Regions from separate parts of the Homo sapiens genome. Here region 2 is linked to region 1. The links are contacts of gene promoters, found by promoter capture Hi-C in human tissues and cell types (Jung and others, 2019). All regions are on one chromosome and are shown on one strand. Each heading gives the region's core, a stretch centred on a gene start or on the middle of the fragment in contact. The rest is flanking DNA. Distances are from core to core; before and after follow the strand shown.

Region 1 (4,345 bases), core at 1,724-4,223:
GACGTTGGCTCACTACAACCTCCACCTCCCGGTTTCAAGTGATTCTCATGTCTCAGCCTCCTAAGTAGCTGGAACTACAGGCACCTGCCACCACTCCTGGCCAATTTGCGTACTTTTTAGTAAAGACAAGGTTTCACCATGTCAGTCAGGCTTGTCTTGAACTACCGACCTCAAATAATCTGCCCACCTTAACCTCCCAAAGTGCTGGGATTACAGGCGTGAGCCACCGTGCCTGGCCTCACAAATATATAATTTATTTGTCTCCAGCACAAACATTCAATATCCTTCTTCTAGCTATTTGAAAATATTATTGTTAATCATAGTTATCCCCCAGTGATATAGAACACTAGAATTTTTTTTTTTTTTTTTGAGATGGAGTCTCACTCTTGTTGCCCAGGCTAGAGTGCAATGGTGCGATCTTGGTTCACTGCAACCTCCGCCTCCGGGGTTCAAGTGATTCTCCTGCCTCTGCCTCCTAGTAGGTGGGATTACAGGCACCCGCCAACGTGCTCGGCTAATTTTTGTATTTTTAGTAGAGATGGGGTTTCGCCATGTTGGCCAGGCTAGTCTCAAACTCCTGATCTAAGGTGATCTGCCCACTTCAGCCTCCCAAAGTTTTGGGATTACAGGTGTGAGCCACCACACCCGGCCAAGAACACTAGAATTTATTCCTCCTATCTAAATGTAATTTGGGGCCAAGCGAGGTGGCTCACACCTGTAATCCCAGCACATTGAGAGGCTGAGGAGTGGGGATCACTTGAGCTCAGGTGATCACCGTGGGCAACATGATGAAATCTCATCTCCACAAAAAGTACAAAAAATTAGCCAGGCGTGGTGACACGAGCCTGTAGTTCCAGCTACCCACGAGGCTGAGGTGCGATGATCACTTGAACCCAGGAGGTCGAGACTGCAGTGAGCAGTGATTGCATCACTGTATTCCAGCCTGGGTGACAAAGTGAGATCCTATCTCAAACAAACAAACAAACGAACAAACAAATGTAATTGGGGGCCAGTGTGGTGGCTCACAGCTGTAATCCTAGCACTTTTGGAAGCCAAGGTGGGAGGACAGCTTGAGCCCAGGAGGTCAAGGAGGCAGTGAGCCATGATCCTGCTGCTGCACTCCAGCCTGGGCAATAGAGACCCTGTCTCAAAAAAAATTGTAATTTTGTGTCTTTTTTTTTTTTCTTTTGAGATGGAGTCTTGCTCTGTTGCCAGGCTGGAGTGCAGTGGCACAATCTCAGCTCACTGCAACCTCTGCCTCCCGGGTTCAAGCGATTCTCCTGCCTCAGCCTCCCTAGTAGCTGGGACTACAGGTGCGCGCCACCACACCCAGCTAATTTTTGTATTTGTAGTAGATACGGGGTTTCACCATGTTGGCCAGGATGGTCACAATCTCTTGACCTCGGGATCTGCCCGCTTCAGCCTCCCAAAGTGCTGGGATTACAGGTGTGAGCCACTGTGCCAGGCCCAATTTTGTCTTTTTTTTTTTTCTGAGACGGAGTCTTGCTCTGTTTCCCAGGCTGGAGAGCAAATGGCGCGATCTCGGCTCACTGCAACCTCCGCCTCCCGAGTTCAAGCAATTCTCTGCCTCAGCCTCTCGAGTATCTGGGATAACAGGCGCCCACCACCACGACCAGCTAATTTTTGTATTTTTAGTAGAGATGGGGTTTCGCCATCTTGGCCAGGCTGGTCGTGAACTCCTGACCTCATGATCCACCCCCTTCGGCCTCCCAAAGTGCTGGGATTACAGGTGTGAGCCACAATTTTGTGTCTTTTAACAAATCTTTCCCTGTCCCTTCCTTCCCCCTGCTCTTCCCAGCCTCCAGTATCCTCTGTTCTTTCACTTCTATGAAATCAACTTTTTAAAAGCGTCACATATGAGTGAGAACATGCAGTGTTTTAACTTTCTGTTCGTGGCTTAAGTCAGTTAACATGTCCTCCAGTTCCATCCATGTTGCTGCAAATGACAGGATTTTCTTCTTTTTAATGGCTGAAAAGTATTCCATTGTGTATATACACCCTATTTCCTTTATTCATCTGTTGTTGGACACAGAGATTGATTTCCTATTTTGGCTACTCTAAGTAGTGCTGCAATAAATATGGGGGTGCATAAATATGGAGTGCAGACGTCTCTTGGATATACTGATTTCCTTTTTTTTTTTCCTCCTAAATTGGCTTCCTCAGGTTGAATTATGTCCTTTCCTTTGGATAAATGTCTATGGCTGTGTTTTTAACCACAATACTATGCTTCCTTCCTCAAGGATTTTTGACTTTATCTTGTAGATGATGTGGAGCCATTAAAAATGTTTGAGGACAGGAGTGGCAAAACGTGGGTTTTTAGAAAGTTTCCTACTAGCAGCAGTGTAGAAAATGGACTGGAGCGGAGAGAATGACCTCTTCTAAAAGAAAATGTGAGCTGGGGGCGCAGGCTTATGCCTGTAATCCCAGCACTTTGGGAGGCCGAAGCGGGCGGATCACCTGAGGTCAGGAGTTCGAGACCAGCCTGGCCAACACGGTGAAAGCTGTCTCTACTAAAAATACAAAAATTAGTTGGGCATGGTGGCGGGCGCCTGTAATCCCAGCTACTCGGGGGACTGAGGCAGGAGAATCGCTTCAGCCCGGGGGACGGAGGTTGCAGTGAGCCGAGATCGTGCCACTGCACTCCAGTCTGGCGACAGAGCGAGGCGAGACTCCGTCCCTACGGAAAAAAAAAACCATATATATATATAAAATAAAAATAAATAAAATAAAATGTGTTGACTTAGGGTTATGGGGGTCTTCGTACCACCAAGTGGACTCATTGAGCAAGGGAGATCGCTGGGTACTAGAGCAAGCGGCCTAGAGCATCCGCGCAGGAGTAGGAGAGGCTGAAGAGTAAAGAGGGTTTAGAGGGTGGGACTGGGAGTCTCTCGACACTCTGTTACTTCTGCCTGTAAACGCCCGACTTCCGCCGCTGGTGGCCACCCGCAGGTAGTGATGTCGAGCGTCGAGCTCCCAAAACCGAGCTGGTGAGGGGCTGCAGGTGGCGGCGCAGTCTCGGTAGGCGGTATGAGTTTGGCTGGGGGCCGGGCACCCCGGAAGACCGCTGGGAACCGGCTTTCTGGGCTTTTGGAGGCAGAGGAGGAAGATGAGTTCTACCAGACGACTTATGGGGGTTTCACAGAGGCAAGATCCGGGCCTGGGAAAAGGGAGGGGAGGAGGCAAAGAGGAGCCCTGAAGGGAGAAACCCCGGACAAAGAAGAAGAGGGCGGGGAATAGAGAGGAGCTCTGGGAGCTGATACTCGAGTTGGGTGGGTGAATCGGAGCCGGGGGGCGAGGCGGGGGAACGGATAGTGTGGAGTCCTAGAAGGGAGAGCTCTGGATGGGGTCAAAGGGGCCTGAGACGGAGAAGCTCTCCGGAGGCACTCCAGAGAACAGAGAACGGCAGAAACCTACCGTATACTTGCGTGGTTGCATCTTTCACTGTACTTCTGACGTCCAGCATACACGAGGCACACACATAGTAGTAGACAGTTGCTCGATGTATACTCGTTGGCCCACTGCTGGATTATTCACCTGAGACATGGAAAGGAACCGCTCCAAAAGTAGAGGAGCTTAGCCCACTTCTTTTTCAGCTTTCAGGTCTCAGTGTAAATGTTTTCTCAGGAAGATAACCCTTCCTTGACTATCCTAACAAGTGTCCCCATTTATTTCTTCCACAGAACATATTTCAATTTGCAATTAGATTTGGTTTGCTTACTTGCTTATGCTTTTCTATTGCATTGTAAACTGTATAAAGTTAGAGATGGTCTGTTTTGTTCAACATTATGTGTGAGGTGTCCGGACTGGGCTGCCACTTGCTAAATTTTTATTAGTTGAATCTACCCGTTTATTAAATGTGTTGAGTACCCAGAGCATGCCATCGGTAATAGGTTGTTTTAGGCTCTAGGGAAACAGAATATTAAAAACAGTGCTCTGTCCTTACATACTCCATGCCCCAGTGGGGTAACTGCCTGGGTTAACAGTTAAAATACTGTGTGATAGGCCGAGCACAGTGGCTTTGGCCGGGCACAGTGGCTCACGCCTGTAATCCCAGCACTTTGGAAGGCCGAGGCGGGTGGATCACAAGGTCAGGAAATCGAGACCATCCTGGCCAACATGGTAAAACCCCCTGTCTCTATTAAAATACAAAAATTAGCCAAGCGTGGTGGTGTGCGCCTATAGTCCCAGCTACTCAGGAGGCTGAGGCAGAGAATCGCTTGAACCTGGGAGGAGGAGGTTGCAGTGAGCCGAGATCGTACCACTGCACTCCAGCCTGGGCGACAGAGCAGGACTCCGTCTCAAAAACAAACAAAAAATGTGTGAT
Region 2 (4,384 bases), core at 585-3,084, 63 kb after region 1:
CCTGTAAATCGAAAAGATCACCTACCTTTACCAGGTGTATCAGACAGGGTCCCAACAGGAAATAACATTCTCAAAATAATGAAGGGCTATTTTGAAAGGTATGGGCAAAGGATAGGTCAGTAACTGGAGGCTAATAACTGTATTAGGCCTAAAAGGATAAAAGGAGTTATTAGTTTCTAGGTCCTGGAGGGGGAGAGTGCCTTGAGAGAAGCAGTGACTTTTTTTTTTTTTTTTTTTTTTTTTTGCGATACAGTTGCTGGAGTGCAGTGGTGTGATCTTAGCTCACCAAAACCTCCGCCTCCCAGGTTCAAGTGATTTTCGTGCCTCAGCTTCCCGAGTAGCTGAGATTACAGGAGTGCACCACTGTGCCTGGCAAATGTCAATACATCGACTTCAGTCTTTTCTCTTCCCCCAGTCTCCTGTCAGGGCTCCCTATTGGCTGAATCCAACTGGAGGCCAAAGCACAGGAAGCCCATTGATGTTCATATAGGTCAGTCTCCCAGGACAGAGAACAGGCTACAGAATAGAGGAGCGTAATCTGGAAGGAAAGAAAGAAAACATCCAGCATACCTAGAGATGAAGACCCTATTCATTCCCCACAAGAGAGATTATTTTTTACTCTTCTTGCTCAAGTATTGCTGGCCAGAAACTCTATGCAGATACCCCCAAATTAGTTTTGGAGCAAAATTTACTTTGGGGAGCTTATAGGAAATGCTGCTTGGATCATATTTTTCTTCTCAGTTTCTTTTTTTTTTTTTTGAGACAGAGTCTTGCTCTGTCGCCCAGGCTGGAGTGCAGTGGTGCAATCTCGGCTCTCTCAGCTCACTGCAATCTCTGCCTCCTGGGTTCAAGCCTCCTGCCTCAGCCTCCCGAGTAGCTGGGATTACAGGGATGTGCCACCATGCCCGGCTAATTTTTGTATTTTCAGTAGAGATGGGGTTTCACCATGTTGGCCAGGCTGGTCTCGAACTCCCAACCTCAGGTGATCTGCCCGAGTTTGGCTTTTTTTTTTTTTTTTTTTTTTCCGAGATAGTGTCTCACTCTGTCACCCAGGCTGGAGTGCAGTGGTGCAACTGCGGCTCACTGCAAGCTCCGCCTCCTGCCTCAGCCTCCTGAGTAGCTGGGACTACAGGCGCCTGCCACCACACCCAGTTAATCTTTGTGTTTTTAGTAGAGACAGGTTTTCACCATGTTAGCCAGGATGGTCTCAATTTCCTGACCTCGTGATCCGCCGGCCTTGGCCTCCCAAAGTGCTGGGATTACGGGCCACGGCACCCGGCCCTCAGTTTCTTAAATGCAAATCTGAGATGAATTAAGCTGCCCAAGGCTAGTGAATAAAATAGCATTCTGACAAAAGGGAAATCACAGAGGAAAGTACACTAATTAACTCAATGTAGAAACTGTAGTTTTAGAAAGAACAATTTTAGCCAGGGTGCCATGGCTCACGCCTATAATTCCAACAGTTTGGGAAGGTAAGGCAGGTGGATCCCTTGAGCTCAGGAGTTCAAGACCAGCCTGGGCAACATGGTGAAACCCTGTCTCTACCAAAAATACAAAAATTAGCCAGGCATGGTGGTGTGCACCTGTAGTCCCAGCTTCTCAGTAGGCTGAGGTGGAGGATTGCTTGAGACCTGGAGGTCGAAGGTCGAGGCTGCAGTGAGCCAAGATCATGCCACTGCACTCCAGCCTGGGCAAGAGTGAGACCCTGTCTTTAAAAAGAAAAAAAAAAAAGGACAATTTTTACAAGTGTGTGACTCTGCAAAGTCAACCTATTTTTACAACTATATGATGAGGATAATACTCACCTTACAAGATGGGTATTTATATGTATATGCAGAGTACCTAGCACATTGCCAGACATGTAGCAAAAGCTTAAAACATGGTGGCTATTGTTATTTATAATTTTGGGCCCTTTCCCAAACTTTCCTTTCCTTTACAGCACTACCCTTAAACTTTAGGACTGGTTATAGGAGCAGACTGCAACCCCACACTTTTGTTCAGAAGTCTCCCATAGTCTTAACTTACTCAATTACCTATCAAATGTCTTGCACAAGCCTTACACAGGTGTAGTTATCACTGGGTTGCTCCCACTTCAGCCTTCACCTGTATTTTTTACCTATTGATCTCCTTGGAGTAGAGGGTTCTTTTTTACAGAGGAAGGAAGTCTTAGGAAAGTTGCCCTAGTTCATAATTTTTCCCATTACTTAAGACTATCACCCAGCCGGGCACGGTGGCTCACACCTGTAAGCCCAGCACTTTGGGAGGCCAGTGCGGGTGGATCACCTGAGGTCAGGAGTTCAAGACCAGCCTGGCCAACATGGTGAAACCCCGTCTCTACTAAAAATACAAAAATTAGCTGAGTGTAGTGGTGCATGCCTGTAATCCCAGCTAATAGGGAAGCTGAGGCAGGAGAATCACTTGAACCTGGGAGGCAGAGGCTGCAGTGAGCCAAGATCATGCCACCGCACTCCAGCCTGGGCAACAGTGTGAGACTCTGTCTCAAAAAAAAAAAAAAAAAAAAAAGAGTATCACCCATCAGAGAACTCTAGGTTCCTATCTCTCTAGTTCCCTCCAACTTTCCCATCTTGATGATTTCTCTCACCAGGATTTAATTCAACAAGATTTTTAGTTCTTTGGTTCTTAAGGCTCCACAAGTTCCTGCTTTTTTTTCTGTCAGCACAGCCAAGACTATATATATTAATAAAGTACCTGCCAGAATTACTTTCTATTACTTGAATATGTGCACAGCATTTGCTGACTATATGTATTTACCAAAAAGAAATTATCTACATGTACCCTAGTACATGGTAGGTGTCCAATTTCCTAAATATTGACTTTGAGAACTTACTTGAGATTCCAGTCGCTGAACACAGATGCTTATATGTCCTTAGCTTTGGACAGGCTCAAAGCTAATTTTGTAAAGAAAGGTATCCTTCTTGCCAACAAAACAGCTTTTCAGAACTCTATACACTAGATAGGATACCCATCTTGCTAGTCAAATTGGTCTGTTCACCCCGGCTATCAATGGGGATTGTGCTACTATCAGACTGATCCTCCTATTTTTAAATATAAATGTGTGCTGATTTTGGACTAAGATAGCAGCAAGCACCCTATTAACCAAGAATAGCTGAGAAGCTGGCAAAGTAAATCTACTCTTTCCAAGCACTCCTGAGTCTGATGTTTTTCCCCATACGTCTCAGTATTGACTTTACTCCCACACAAGGCACATAATCATTTTCTTCAGCTACTTTTCTCCTCCCTTGGTTGTTTGCTTTTAGGGAAGGGAGTGGGGAATGAGAGAAAGAAGGAAAATGTACATTTAACAAGCTGGTCAAAAGCTCTCCTCATTCTCATTTCATTTCTTACCTCAACTTGCTCTGCCTGTCAAGAATACCAGGCTGAGAGCGGTGGATAAGGAAAAGGCAATGGCCATGCATGGGTTAGTAGATCTATACCCCTCCCCCTTCAGTTAGCTCAGTTGGACAGGGAAAATGAGCTCTGTGGTTCACCTGTCATTAGAGAATAGATACAAATTTGGCCGGGCTCGGTGGCTCACGCCTGTAATCCCAGCACTTTGGGAGGCCGAGGCGGGCGGATCACGAGGTCAGGAGATCGAGACCATCCCGGCTAAAACGGTGAAACCCCGTCTCTACTAAAAATACAAAAAAATTAGCCGGACGTAGTGGCGGGCGCCTGTAGTCCCAGCTACTTGGGAGGCTGACGCAGGAGAATGGCGTGAACCCGGGAGGCGGAGCTTGCAGTGAGCCGAGATCCCGCCACTGCACTCCAGCCTGGGCGACAGAGCGAGACTCCGTCTCAAAAAAAAAAAAAAAAAAGAGAATAGATACAAATTTTGCCCAGGAGATGAAAACAAATTCAATGACACCCTGAAATGGTCGGCTTTGACATTTTATTGAGAAACATTTTTATTTTAAATGATAGTACAAAAACTGTATATATAATATAGATCTGTATAAGTATATATACATACAAATGCTCATACACACATATACACACAAACTTGCTCATCAGAATAAAACCCTAAATAAAGAAGTATATTTAAGTTTTTCTAAAAATACGCTGTACATAAAGCTGTCAGACAACCTGAAAAACTGAGGACATTGTGAGAACAGTCTGGGCGCATCCCCCCACACACACACCTGCCGCAGTACACACACAAATGGCCTTGACAGAAGGACAGCACATGGGGCAAGGTCAGGGAGAGAGCTGCTACCATCATTGTTGCTAGAACAAGATGTCTAAAGCCAACTAGAAAGCACAGGATATAGAAGGTGACCTAGATTAACTTTCAGAAACAAACCACCTCAGAATAAACAAAAAATATGTGGTAGGGAAGGAGGGGAACGGAGAGAGAAAAGACAAG

Evidence for each region. The method cuts DNA at HindIII sites, captures the fragments that hold promoters and counts their contacts. A contact is called where the count stands out against the background at its distance.
Region 2: a contact is called between a fragment that was not itself captured here and the fragment with the promoter of VPS72 in region 1, in 1 of the 25 tissues and cell types used here (heart left ventricle).

What each region holds. Positions count from the first base shown.
Region 1 is chr1:151,188,825-151,193,169 of GRCh38, reverse strand. VPS72 (vacuolar protein sorting 72 homolog) reads left to right here and starts at 2,973. Exons shown (of 6, transcript NM_005997.3): 1 at 2,973-3,165. The coding sequence starts at 3,049. RefSeq lists enhancers at 2,829-2,888, 2,929-2,998. The HindIII fragment of the contact is 20,238 bases long and covers 1-4,345 here.
Region 2 is chr1:151,125,055-151,129,438 of GRCh38, reverse strand. GABPB2 (GA binding protein transcription factor subunit beta 2) reads right to left here. Exons shown (of 9, transcript NM_144618.3): 9 at 3,897-4,384. LOC124904418 (a long non-coding RNA gene) reads right to left here and starts at 225. Exons shown (of 2, transcript XR_007066619.1): 1 at 26-225. The HindIII fragment of the contact is 3,145 bases long and covers 262-3,406 here.